3 separate regions of the Homo sapiens genome follow, and regions 1 and 2 are each linked to region 3. Evidence: promoter capture Hi-C in 16 types of primary human blood cells and fetal thymus (Javierre and others, 2016). All regions are on one chromosome and are shown on one strand. Each heading gives the region's core, a stretch centred on a gene start or on the middle of the fragment in contact. The rest is flanking DNA. Distances are from core to core; before and after follow the strand shown. Region 1 overlaps KYAT3 (kynurenine aminotransferase 3). Region 2 overlaps KYAT3 (kynurenine aminotransferase 3). Region 3 holds the start of LRRC8B (leucine rich repeat containing 8 VRAC subunit B).

Evidence for each region. Contacts are between HindIII fragments. The CHiCAGO score rates a contact against its expected background, and 5 or more counts as called.
Region 1: a fragment that was not itself captured here is called in contact with the fragment with the promoter of LRRC8B in region 3 in 1 of 17 cell types (activated CD4 T cells); the score reaches 5.3 in activated CD4 T cells.
Region 2: a fragment that was not itself captured here is called in contact with the fragment with the promoter of LRRC8B in region 3 in 3 of 17 cell types (neutrophils, total CD4 T cells and non-activated CD4 T cells); the score reaches 6.1 in neutrophils.

What each region holds. Positions count from the first base shown.
Region 1 is chr1:88,980,494-88,984,778 of GRCh38, reverse strand. All of the region lies in intron 2 of KYAT3 (kynurenine aminotransferase 3), which reads left to right. RBMXL1 (RBMX like 1) reads left to right here. Exons shown (of 3, transcript NM_001162536.3): 3 at 713-4,285. The coding sequence starts at 953. The coding sequence ends at 2,125. Among named protein-coding and RNA genes, the nearest start is that of KYAT3, 10 kb to the left of the region's middle. The HindIII fragment of the contact is 4,277 bases long and covers 1-3,992 here.
Region 2 is chr1:88,961,664-88,966,344 of GRCh38, reverse strand. KYAT3 (kynurenine aminotransferase 3) reads left to right here. Exons shown (of 14, transcript NM_001008661.3): 5 at 1,367-1,516; 6 at 4,200-4,286. Among named protein-coding and RNA genes, the nearest start is that of KYAT3, 29 kb to the left of the region's middle. The HindIII fragment of the contact is 2,075 bases long and covers 1,414-3,488 here.
Region 3 is chr1:89,522,743-89,527,323 of GRCh38, reverse strand. LRRC8B (leucine rich repeat containing 8 VRAC subunit B) reads right to left here and starts at 2,495. Exons shown (of 6, transcript NM_001369817.2): 1 at 2,302-2,495. RefSeq lists enhancers at 467-968, 969-1,470 and a silencer at 2,172-2,631. The HindIII fragment of the contact is 21,216 bases long and covers 1-4,581 here.

The sequences.
Region 1 (4,285 bases), core at 605-3,104, 540 kb after region 3:
AATTTACAAAAGCCCAGAATAACTCAAAGGCAAATTCTAGCCCTGCAAATATCAGCCCTAAAGCTGTGCTGTGGCCAGTGCATAGTTTTCTATTGAAGTACAATTTTTTCCCCAAATACATTATCTCTCAGAGGGAGTCCAAATTGCTTCCCTTTCACTCAGCAGATCTGTTCAGTCAACAGATGTTAAATAGCTACAGCGTATCAGGCACAAATAATTCTTTATAAAATAAAGTAACAAACTATATGTTGTTTCAAAGTTCCAGTTAAGGCCAGCCGTGGTAGCTCACCCTTATAATCCCAACACTGGGAGGCCGAGGCAGGCGGATCACTTGGGCTAGGAGTTCCATACCAGCATGGCCAACATGGTGAAACCCTGCTCTACTAAAATACAAAAATTAGCCAGGTGTGGTGGCGCATGCCGGTAATCCAAGCTACTCAGGTGGCTGAGGCACAAGAATGGCTTGAGCCTGGGAGGCAGAGGTTGCAGTGAGCCAAGATTGCGCCGCTGCACTCCAGCCTGGGCAACACTGTGAGACTCCTGTCTACAAAAAAAAAAAAAAAAAAAAAAAAAAGCAACAAAAAAAGGGCTCCTGTTAATTATACACACTTTTGAGCTTAATATAATTGCATTTTTTATGTATCTTTAAGCATCTTTCCCTGCTTTACATTTCCACTTCTGAGTTTTACTTTCATTTCTTCCACCATTACAGGAACATTCTGTTGTTTTCCTCTGCCATCTAGTGGCAAAAGAAAGTAATTTTCCTGGTTTTTTGAATGGATAGCCATACCTTAAAAAGCATCCAGATTGCGCAGTAGTGCTAGCGGCTTCGCGGTTCAGTCCTCCTAACTGACAGCCGCCACTGGTGCTGAGCTGCTAGGAAGCCCCTGTCGGCGAGCTTGTTGGAGCTTGAACCCACTGTCACCCCTCCGACTCACCGGCAAAAAAAAAAATGGTTGAAGCAGATCGCCCAGGAAAGCTCTTCATTGGTGGGCTTAATACGGAAACAAATGAGAAAGCTCTTGAAACAGTATTTGGCAAATATGGACGAATAGTGGAAGTACTCTTGATAAAAGACCGTGAAACCAACAAATCAAGAGGATTTGCTTTTGTCACCTTTGAAAGCCCAGCAGACGCTAAGGATGCAGCCAGAGACATGAATGGAAAGTCATTAGATGGAAAAGCCATCAAGGTGGAACAAGCCACCAAACCATCATTTGAAAGAGGTAGACATGGACCGCCCCCACCTCCAAGAAGTAGAGGTCCTCCAAGAGGTTTTGGAGCTGGAAGAGGAGGAAGTGGAGGAACCAGGGGACCTCCTTCACGAGGAGGACACATGGATGATGGTGGATATTCCATGAATTTTAACATGAGTTCTTCCAGGGGACCACTCCCAGTAAAAAGAGGACCACCACCAAGAAGTGGGGGTCCTTCTCCTAAGAGATCTGCACCTTCAGGACTAGTTCGCAGCAGCAGTGGAATGGGAGGAAGAGCTCCTCTATCACGTGGAAGAGATAGTTATGGAGGTCCACCTCGAAGGGAACCGCTCCCCTCTCGTAGAGATGTTTATTTGTCCCCAAGAGATGATGGGTATTCTACTAAAGACAGCTATTCAAGCAGAGATTACCCAAGTTCTCGTGATACAAGAGATTATGCACCACCACCACGAGATTATACTTACCGTGATTATGGTCATTCCAGTTCACGTGATGACTATCCATCAAGAGGCTATGGCGATAGAGATGGATATGGTCGTGATCGTGACTATTCAGATCATCCAAGTGGAGGTTCCTACAGAGATTCATATGAGAGTTATGGTAACTCACGTAGTGCTCCACTTACACGAGGGCCCCCGCCATCTTATGGTGGAAGCAGTCGCTATGATGATTATAGCAGCTCACGTGATGGATATGGTGGAAGTCGAGACAGTTACTCAAGCAGCCGAAGTGATCTCTACTCAAGTTGTGACAGGGTTGGCAGACAAGAAAGAGGGCTTCCCCCTTCTGTAGAAAGGGGGTACCCTTCTTCACGTGATTCCTACAGCAGTTCAAGCCGCGGAGCACCAAGAGGTGCTGGCCCTGGAGGAAGCCGATCTGATAGAGGGGGAGGCAGAAGCAGATACTAGAAACAAACAAAACTTTGGACCAAAATCCCAGTTCAAAGAAACAAAAAAAAGAGTGGAAACTATTCTATCATAACTACCCAAGGACTACTAAAAGGAAAAATTGTGTTACCTTTTTTAAATTCCCTGTTAAGTCCCTTCCGTAATTTTTATGTTCTTGTGAGGAAAAAAGTAAAACATGTTTAATTTTATTTGACTTTATGACATTGCTTTTCAACAAGCAAATGTTAAATGTGTTAAGCCTTGTAGTACTAGTGTTGTAACTTTCCAAGTAAAGGTGTCCCTAAAGACCACTTCCTATCTGGTTTTTCCCAGTAAATGAGGCAAGCAATTCTAAGATCTTCCACAAAACATCTAGCCAACTAAAATGGAGAGATGAATCATTCTGCCTATACAAACAAGCTAGCTATTAGAGGGTGGTTGGAGTATGCTACTCATAAGATTTCAGGGTGTTTTCTAACTGAAATCTCACTGTTCTCAGTATGCAAAACCTGAAATCAGATGCCTATGTAAGGAAAGTGCTATTCACCCAGTAAACCCAAAAAAAGCAAATGGATAATGCTGGCCATTTTGCCTTTCTGACATTTCCTTGGGAATCTGCAAGAACCTCCCCTTTCCCCTCCCACAATAAGACCATTTAAGTGTGTGCTAAACAACTACGGAATACTAAATAAAAAGTTTGGCCAAAACCAACCATGAAGCTGCAAAGGTGCTTGCTCTTACTCTTTCAAATTTTTGCAACTCTAATGTCTCACTTTTAAAGGAACAGCTTGATTGCAAAGGAGAAAATAGATAAGCAATGAATTTATCTCCAACTTCCTAAAGGCTTATGACTTCTAAAAAGTGAATCTATCAGCATTCCACATCAGATTTAAAGCATCAAATGCCTGTGAAACAGCAAAGATGGTTGAAGATTGTGCTCATTATGTTTGTGGAGTGCTGATTGATTCACAGTAGATAACGCTGGCAGTAAGAGAAATCAAATGCTAAGAGTTGTTGAAGCAGAAGGCGGCTGATTGTTGGTAAGTCAGTGCAGTTGCATAAGCAGTGCTGTCAGAATTGGTTTGGTGCAGGCAATAGATTTTGCCTTCAAGGGTTCCTGTGGATCTCAGGAAGGCATCAGTGTTGATTAACACTCATAACTAGGGAGTGAGTGGTAGTTACTTAAGTAATTGACCAAATGGAAAAGGGGAAGTAATTAAGGAAATTGGTAAGTGGAGGTAGTCAGGAGGTTCTCGTGGTCCTTTACACAGATTTTACAGCTTTGGGTTTCATTTTGTTTAGCTAAAGTCATGGGGACAACTCTTCAATTTAGAACTTAAGATGAATTATAAAAATGATGGATATAAGTGGTAGCTCTATCTGGTGAAGTGTCTTGTCAGTAAGTGAAACATTTTTTTGTGGTGGCTTATCCACAAACAGTTTAGTTGTAGAATAAAACTTATGAGTGACATCTGGAAAGTAACAACCATGCTAAGATGGCAAACACACTGGAAACAATTGGGCCACTTGGCTTTCTTTTGCTGTATTGTTTTATAAGCCTGCTTTACCTCCCCGTCTTGGAAACAAGTTTTAGTTTATTGCTTTGGAGACTAGAGCCAATAGTGTAATGTTCTCAAAGGAAACAGACTTGAGTTGTTGGATTAGAGGAACTAACTCAACTTCTAATTTTTTTTGTTGTAATTATGGCACTGTCATGTTTTAACATTTGCAACTAGGGATAGTAAGTACAACATTTTTAACTCTCATTTGGCAGACTACTACTAATCACAGACCACAAGGGTAATGACCAAATTTATGTGGTTGTTACACTTCCATAGTTGTCTTAGCCGAATCCTTCCATATTCTTATGATTACTTGGGTTAAAGCTTCTGTGAGGACCTTTTGGCTCTTAAGATATCCTAAATATTTAAAATATTTAGATATCCTAAATATAGGATATAGAGTTTGTACCAAATATGAATGAATATTGTTCAAAGCAAGGAGTATGTTAAAATGACCAGACACCTGTTTGATAAATAGTTTACTGAACTAGCAGACGTGTGGAAAAAGAATCAGATCTTGATTCTTCTGGGTTTATACTGGTTGTAAAACAGAATGATATTAGAAAATGTTTTCCTTGTTTAAGTGGTAGTTGAACATAGAACTTGGGTATTATAGATC
Region 2 (4,681 bases), core at 1,202-3,701, 560 kb after region 3:
CTAAATATTGTCTATGTCAGTTTTCCCAAATTGGTCTATAGCAGGGTTTTGCAATCTATGGCCTATGGACCCAATATGTCAAATTTTGTAAATAAAGTTTCATTAGAACACAACCATACCCACTTATTTATTAATATGTATATTCTAGTTTTTGTAAATACATAGGTATATACATGTCTATGTGTTTTTATATTGGTATAAGCACTGAGAGTGGTGTTGCACTATCACCAGGCTGTGGACATTCATCACCTCAGGGGGATGGGAATGAAATAATATTGAGGAGCGATTGTAATTTTTATACATCTTTGCCTAGTTTTACTTATTGCATGAAGCATAAATTATTTTTGTATTTAAATTTTTAATTTTAAAAGCACAAACACTTATCATTCTAAGAAATGTATATAGTGTTTATAGTTGCTTTTCAGATCTCCTCTTGCTAGAATTTGTTAGACCTGCTATTAAAGTAAAATTCAAAGGAACTCAGTTTATTGCTCCAGAGCCCAAAGTGCTTTCAAACAAAGGTACATGACCTGCACTTGCACTCTTACTCTCAAGGGATAGAAAATCAGGATGGTACTTCAAAAGCAAAATGAGGAGGTAGATGCTGGACAGAAAACAACAGGAAATATTGACCTAAATACCAAATAAAACAAGGAGGGGGAAAGGAAAAGGAAGAAAAAAAAGGAAGGAAGGGGAGAGAGCCTAGAAGAGAACTTAGGGAGAGCTAATCCAGGAGTCTTCAGACCCCCTGCTTGCCTCAGGCTGTACCTTCATAATCCCTTCACTTCTCCTATGAAAGTAGTTACCTTGGATAACCACTGCTCTCTTGACTGTCAGTGTGAGTAGTGTCTCACTTCCTTCTAACATTTGCTATCACATCAACACTAGTGTTCGTGTCGTTGGTGAATTTGTTTTTGTTCTCTTTCCCTAGTCCATTGGTTGGCATAACCATCTCTCCAGCAATCAGGAAGAGCCAAGGAGTGGGTATACAGTTAAAGTGGGTTTTTTTCACTTATTTTAACTGGGAAACAAATCCAACTCTTTTCAATATGATTTAATTACTGTCAAAAAATACAAATGGTTGATTTTTATTCAAAGCAAATACTTTGAAATTATATAATCCCAAACCCTTTATTTAGTAAGAAGTTTTAATCATTAGCAAGCCTTCATGACAAATAGTGTGGGAATACTCTAAATGTAGGAAATTTTAAAAAATTTATTGCCATTAAAAAATATAAATTTTCTTGGGGTAATTATAAACATCAAATCCAAATTTTAAAAATTCTTACATTTTAGAGCCATATTACCTCAAACAGTAGGTCCCATATTTAAATTCAAGGTTTTGTTCTTATTTTTAATCCAACAGGGCCATCCATCACTTGTGAAAGCTCTGTCCTATCTGTATGAAAAGCTTTATCAAAAGCAAATTGATTCAAATAAAGAAATCCTTGTGACAGTAGGAGCATATGGATCTCTTTTTAACACCATTCAAGCATTAATTGATGAGGGAGATGAAGTAAGTATATTAACATTATCGTAATACCCATATTAATCAATTATCATTTGTCCCACCTTTGAATCTTTCGCTTATATTCTACTCTTTTCTCTTTTTATTTTTAATTATGTTTTAAGTATAATGCATGTACAGTAAAGTTCACAAATCTTAAATGTACAGCTGGATAAATTACTGTGTAAATTTCTGTGCAACTACAACCAGACAAAGATATGATACATTTCCAGTACCCAGAAAACTTCTTTGTTCCTCTTCAGAGTCTATATTCTCCCAGAGGTAAGTACTCTTCTGTCTTCTATTACCATAGGCTTGTTTTCACTGCTCTTTTACTTAATATGAATATAATTATACAGTGTATACTCTTGGGTCTAGATCCATTCATTTATTTTTGTGTCTGTGAGATTCATCCATTTTGTTGCATATAATTTATTCTTATTTTTATAGCCTATTTAAATAAGGGCAGATGGAAGGGACTAACACTGCCAGGGAAAAAGAATCTTTTGTTTTCATTGCTAAAATAACCTTTACTCTTAACTTGGTCTACAAGTTTTTGATCAATGTCTTTGTGTGCCCAGTAATTGTATAAGCCATCCCATGTGAGGATGTTTTTGTGATTGTTTTTGTTTTTTTGAGATGGAGTCCCACTTTGTTGCCCAGGCTGGAGTGCAGTGGCACGATCTTGGTCACTGCAACCTCCACCTCACGGGTTCAAGTGATTCTCGTGCCTCAGCCTACTGAGTAGCTGAGATTACAGGCGCCCGCCACGAAGCCCAGCTAATTTTTGTATTTTTAGTAGAGATGGGATTTTGCCATGTTGGCCAGTCTGGTCTCGAACTCCTGACCTCAGGTGATCCGCCTGCCTCAGCCTCCCAAAGTGCTGGGATTACAGGCGTGAGCCACCACGCCCAGCTGAGAATGTATTAATATAATAGGAAGGTAAAATGATTTCTGCGATTTAGTACTGTGAGGTATGACCAACTTTTGCAACTACCTCAGTCATCTCTACCCGTATTTCCCATTAGCATTCCAATAGCCTTACTTTAATACTTTTTGCCTCTTTCATTTATTCAGAAAATACTGAGGATCCAATATATGCTAAGCACTGTGAGATAGAAGATGTTTTAAAGATAGATTCTATGCAGAAGGTGTTCCCTGTCTAGTAGAGAACACAGACTTGCAAATGGATTACGAGGAACACTATGGTAGTGACAAAAGGAAGAGGCAATCACCTCTGCTAAGTCTGGAAAGCTCCAGAGAGACATTGCTTAAGCTGGGACTGCAGAACGAATATTTATCCTGATCTATATTGTTAACTTTCTTTAAACTCTCATAACCCTTTATCATACCACTTTTATGAAAGATGCCACTATCTGCTTTGTGTTATGTTATTCTTTTACAACTTTGATTCCCTTCACTATGCCAGACAAGATGTTTAAGGAAACATGTTAATGAAGTTCACAGTTTCATATACATAAACTCCTTTAATCCTATACATAGTTTTGTCTCATACTTCGATGTTGTTAATCCTTTGTTGCTTCTTTCTCTGCACTCTGTTGGGAGTATTATAAGGCTTAGCCCTTAGCTTTCTTTCCTCTATTCTTTCTTCCTTCATCAACTTATCTAGTATTTTGAAACCACATACATGTCACTTGCTATCATACTGACCTATTTATTGTTTCTTTATAGCATTTATTACTATCTGAAATTATCTAATGTCCTTATTTGTCTCTCCGTTCATTATAAGCCTCTCTCAGTAGGATATAAGTTCTAGGAGAACTTTATAGCTTTACTGCCAGCACCTAAAATAGTGAGGACGCAATAAATATTCTCAAAAAAAAAAAAAGAGAGAGAGGAATTGTTCACATCATAAAAGTGAAAAAATCAAGGCGAAGAGTAACAGGTATATTTCTCCCACTCTACTGCCCTGCCTCTCCAATTTATTTTCCTTTATTGTGCTCTCACCTTGTATTAAGCTTTATATTTCCCACTAGAGTTACAAAGATAGATTGTCTTAGTCCCTGAGAACTTCACAGATGAGGCTGAGTGTGGTGGCTCAGGCCTGTAATCCCAGCACTTTGGGAGGCTGAGGCAGATCACCTGAGGTTAGGAGTTTGAGACCAGCCTGGGCAACACGGCGAAACCCCATCTCTACTAAAAATACAAAAATTAACCGTGCTTTTGAGAAGAGAGAAACATCTTTACTCTCAAGATAATGCTTTTAAATTAGCACTTTATACCAGGGAACATTACAGTGTTCTCTTCCCACATAGCCTGCTGTCTGTCACTGCTTATACATCACTTATATTCTAGATTTTATTTTCTGATTTGAAATATGAAGAAATGCTTAATCGTTTTGCCTGGAATATCCCTTTGAGAATGTGATAGTCCCATTCTCCAGGTAAATCTATCTATGCATATATGAAATTTTATATGTAATTTCAAATACTCCCACTGCATGCTTATTTATAGATCTCCCTAAGATACCAAGGAGTCCAATTAAGACTACCTGGACAAGTTTGTCTCCGAGGTCTCTTCCCCTCAGATGTTAGCTCCACAAGGGCAAAGCCTGCCTTTTTCACTGCTGTATCCCAACACATAGTACAGTGCCTAGCCCATAGTAGGTACACAGTATTATTAACATGAATAAATGATTGACAGGTTGTGATCTTATTTGCTTTTATTGCAGGTCATACTAATAGTGCCTTTCTATGACTGCTATGAGCCCATGGTGAGAATGGCTGGAGCAACACCTGTTTTTATTCCCCTGAGATCTGTAAGTTTGCCAGTATGGTTCATATGGCAAAGTTTCAAGACTTAAGAAGTCTTGAAAATACCAATTACTTTGTCATGATAAAGTTTCTACTTTGATTGCATTTGGAGATTTCCTGTATATCTCTATTTGTCTAGTTGTCTTTTTAAAATATTTTTAACATAAGTAATACACTAAGGTGAGTCACAAAATCTTCAGCTAGCCTTACAATATCAGACATGTTAACCATAGTTATAGCTAGTTCCTGTGAAGTAATATTAGCAGCAGTTAATGTTGACAGGGCTTATTTTTCCATTTAACAGGTGTGAGCATAAGACTTAGGTTTTCTTAGGCTCTTAAGCAGAACTACAGCCCAGTTATTTCTGTTTATCTTCTTTGTTAGTCTTTTTCTAGTTTTT
Region 3 (4,581 bases), core at 1,246-3,745:
AAAATTAGAGAATTCAACTTTAGAGACACCAAATGAAAATCCGGGATTGGGTTAAACAGGCTATGAATAGTAAAAAGTCCAGAAAACATAAAATACTCAGGTACTATTAGAAGAATTTGAAAACTAAAATACAAAAACAAAAACCCTTGTTTATAAGAAAAACATTGGCTAAAACAAGGATGTTCTAAATTGTAAAATATTTTTCCCCTTAAACTTCAGAAAACAACAAAAAATAACAAATTTCAGGCCACTACAGGAAAATACATGGATTAGTCTAAAAAACTTGGAAGGCTTAGTATCCTTTAAGTTTTATTAAGCCCCTTTTCATTTTACTTACTGTTGGTGTTTTCACTCTGAGGATTCTGAAAATTAAAATAGCAATGGGAAATGGTGATAGTGGTAGAGAAGAGGTTTAAAAAAGCAAATCTCAACTAGTCAAATGAAATCATTCAAAATGTGAAAAGATTCATAATAGGCTGAACATGTTGGAACACCTTACCAATTGAGGAAAAAGAGAACACATTTCAAAGAATGGTAAACTTAATTCCGACATGCAGATTTAAAAATGTTGTTGGGGATACTAAGTATAAGGAAAGTGCCATGACCCAAGGGTGCACTCAATGACAACATCACCCCCATTCAAGAGACCTCTTTTTAGCTTACAGAAATATCAGACATGTTAGGGCTTATATTCTAAAATTACACAGGCCCAATTACCTTGGGGGTTGGCTGTCACTTTATATTCTCTGAGTAGAGCTGCTGACAAGGAAAGCCAGGAGAAAAAGAAAGTCACCTCGGCACCCACAATTCAGAGAGCATTTGGGGTCACACCTGTAATCCCAGCACTTTGGGAGGCCGAGGTGGGTGGGTCACTTGAGGTCAGGAGTTTCAGACCAGCCTGGCCAACATGGTGAAACCCCGCCACCACTAAAAATATAAAAATTAGCTGGGCGTGGTGGCGGGCCCCTGTAGTCCCCGCTACTCGGGAGGCTGAGGCAGGAGAATCACTTGAACCCAGGAGGTGGAGGTTGCAGTGAGCCGAGATCGCACTACTGCACTCCAGCCTGGGCGACAGAGTGAGACTCCGTCTCAAAACAAAACAAAGAAACAAAACAAAGAGCATTTGGGGTTCTCAGGAGGTGTAGCCTGTACACATAGAGGGTACTGGAATTGTTTAAAAAATTACACTGCAGTTTGACTTCTTTTCCATCCTCACTCCTACACCTAGGTTTAGGGGACAGAACCATCTGATAAAGATAAATCTGTTTTAAGATTTCTGGGGTGTTCTGCAAAGACTACTATATCATTTGCAAATAGGTTGTCTTTTAATAAAAATCATGCTACGTAATGTCTTCTTAATATACGCTGAACAAATTGCCTGTTTTAATTTGGCTATATATCTACAATTTAAAATGTTCATACTGTTATCTTTTACCAGTGGAGTGTTTTTTTGTTTGTTTGTTTGAAGTCTTTAGGCGAAGTGAATTTATTCAAGGAAGTTCACATGTCGGTTTTGTTCTTTTAGAGGGGTGTCTTTTTGACCACAAAGAAAAAAAAAGTTTTCCACAAATGTCATCTAACTAAAGGCAATCTATGGACTTTAGGAAGTCAGTTGAGCACACAGATTAATGAGCCAATACTGAGCCTCCTCCCTTCTGACCTCTCAGCACCTGCTCAACTAAGCTCAGGGGAAACTCTTGAGTCTTCTTCTTAAATTGGTAACGCTTGCCCTTTCTTTCTCAAACAAATCAACGCCCAACACCACCACCAAATTATAGGCAACCAACGCGTATCCAACAGCATAAAATAGTTCCCAAGAGCATAAAATAGTTCCCAACAGCGCCAGCGCAGGGGGCAAAACAGAGCGACCAAATGGGGGCACCCTCAGGGGAGTTGCGCTCATCTGGAGCGAGACGCCAGCCTGGGAAAGCGGAACCCCTTTCCCGCCCCGCCCCGAGGACTCACGCTCAGGTGCAACGCCGAGACTCCCGGGGGAAAGAGAGGTGACCGTCTCGGCGCGACCGCCCACACCTCTTGCTCCAAATGACCCCAGCACACAGGAGAGGTCCTCTCAGCGTGGGACTCCGTCTCTCCCGAAGGCAGGGAGCACAACGAAGCGGCCACTCGTCTCTGCAGCCGCGCTACCGGCCCGCAGCCTGGCTCGCAGGTGAGGCGTGAACAGGTAACCGCACCTGTTCGGCCAGCCCCACCTGCTGCGTCCCCGTATCCGGTCCTCCTCCTCCACCACCTCGGTCGGCGCGGCTCGCCCTCCTGGAACCGGGGTGTCACGCTCCGACCTACCTGCGCGACTCCAGCCCCGGACGCCCGCGCTCCCCGCGGCGTGCTCCTGGGCCGCTCCGGGCGGGCAGGCTGCGGCCCCGCGCCCGCACTTTCCCGGCTGCCGGAGGCTGCGGGCTCAGCGGGAAGCCCCGGCGCTGTCCGGCTCGCCGCCTCCGACCGGCTCCATTGTGACGCGACGCGTTCCGCTGGCCAATGGGCGCTCGGCGGCGCGAACCGCTGACTAAGTTCGCGGGTGGAGGAGGAGGGGACGGGGCGGAGGCAGGGCGCGGAGGCGGCTACCACGGTGGTGGCGGTAGCAGTGGCGGAGGAGGAGGAGGAGGAGGAAGAGGAGGAAGAGGCTGCAGTCGCTTCGGTAGCTGCTCCTGCTGTGAATTTTTCAGCTGCCTGGGCCTGAGTGTTTGCCCAGCTCTGGGGCTGCGGGAGCCAGTGACTCACCTATCACTGCTGGAAACAAAGCGCAGCTGCCATCTCCCCGAGCGCGCCATGTGGCCATCGCTGCCCCCTCGCCCAGCCTGGGGTCCGCAGGAGGTAGCGCACAGCCATACGCCCCGCGGAGCAGCTGGAAAGAGCGGGGACTGCTTTCCAGAAGCGGGAGGGAAATGGGCTTCGGCGTGTCCCCCAGGCGCGCCACACCGGTGACTTCGGCACTACACCGCGTGTGTCGGGCCCCAGCCTTCTCACGTGTGCGTCCCTGAGTAACTTGGCATTTATATAACGCGTGTTGGGCCCTGAGGGAAAGGTCGGGTGCAGCACGCGGGAACCTCCTCTTCGAAAAGGAAGTCCCCTTACTTTTCTTTACCCTGCTTAGAAAGATTGCAGGGCCCAGCCTCTGTGAGGGAGGGTTTACAGTTGTACCAACTAAGCGGCTTAAGTTCGATTCTGGCCTTCCAATACCATTGGCTTCTCTCAAATGTCGTTATCCTCAGGATAGGGAGGGGACCACATGGCCGAGGGGCGGTCCCTATACTCATAACCTGCCTTTCACTGCGATTCAACTGCAGAGACACCTCAACTACTGCCCGCTTGCTTCTCTCCCAAGTGGCACTGCATTTGAAGGCCAACAATATTCCTTACGAAACAGAATTAATCCAAACCCACAAATTCTAGGGACATAAATATTTTTATCATCCTCATCCATTTCCCCACTCTCACCCTTACCCCAGTTTTAACTCAGTCTCTGCCCTGGCTATTATCTTGAGCACACTGATTCAATTAGGCAAGATTTATGTCTTTTAGTTGCTATGGTGGTCACATCTCCATTTAAAAAAAGAAAGAAAAAACAAGTTTGTACCGGCATCTCCCAAAGGAATAAAATGAAGACGAACAGACTCAGCATTTGGGGCATCTGAGCAGTTTGTGTAAATGGGAGTATAGCAAATGCCCTATCGAGTTAATATGAGACAAGAGTTGTGTCTCAGACTGTTCAGATGAGGACTACAATTTGAGTCACCCTGAAAGGGAAAAAGAAGGCTGTCTTTGTGTCACTGATCTGTTCTTTTCTTGTTCACTCAGTCCATTCTGGAACTGCAGATATCTTTTTTCTGAGTCTTGAAGGAAAAGCTGAAAGAACATTTCTTCACTTGGTCATTCGATAAATTTTTATTGAGTTTATATGTGTGAGACACTGGGTATGCACAGATCTACAAGTCTAATTTAAATTTAGGTTTGATCCTTACAGGAGTATCTGAAATTCTCTCAGGGACTTTCTGATTAATTATTTTTGGTAGAAGAAAATTCTAAAAGACTCTGTCACTACTTTCACAGCCAGATTTACCCAAGTCTAAAATAGTGATTAAAAATTCCATCATGGATTTTAAGCACCAAAAAAATGACAGGCAGGTCTCAATCGTTTTAGAGGTTTATTTTGCCAAGGTTAAGGACATTCCCCAGGAGAAAGCACAAATACAGGAACATCTGTGATCTGTGCCTTTTGCAAAGAGAGTTTTTGAGGACTTCAGTATTTAAAGGGGAAAGAGCCAGCAGGAGGGGAAGGAGAAAAGAAAGAAAAAAAAGGGAAATGGGAAGGTAGGCAATGAGGGAAGAAGTTACATTCTTGTGAGGCTTTGATTAGTGCCCAGTGAATTCACATTTTGCGTGTGAAGAGTGGGTAGAGGAATACTGATTATGTGTTCCTCTCATGCTCAGTAAATCTACATTTTACATAAGATAAATGTGAAAATAGGGGGAAAGTCAATTATGAATTTGTCTTGGGGTGGGCAGAGGGATGATTTCCAAGTCTTGTCCTTATACCATACATATGAAGATGAGCTGTTATTGTCA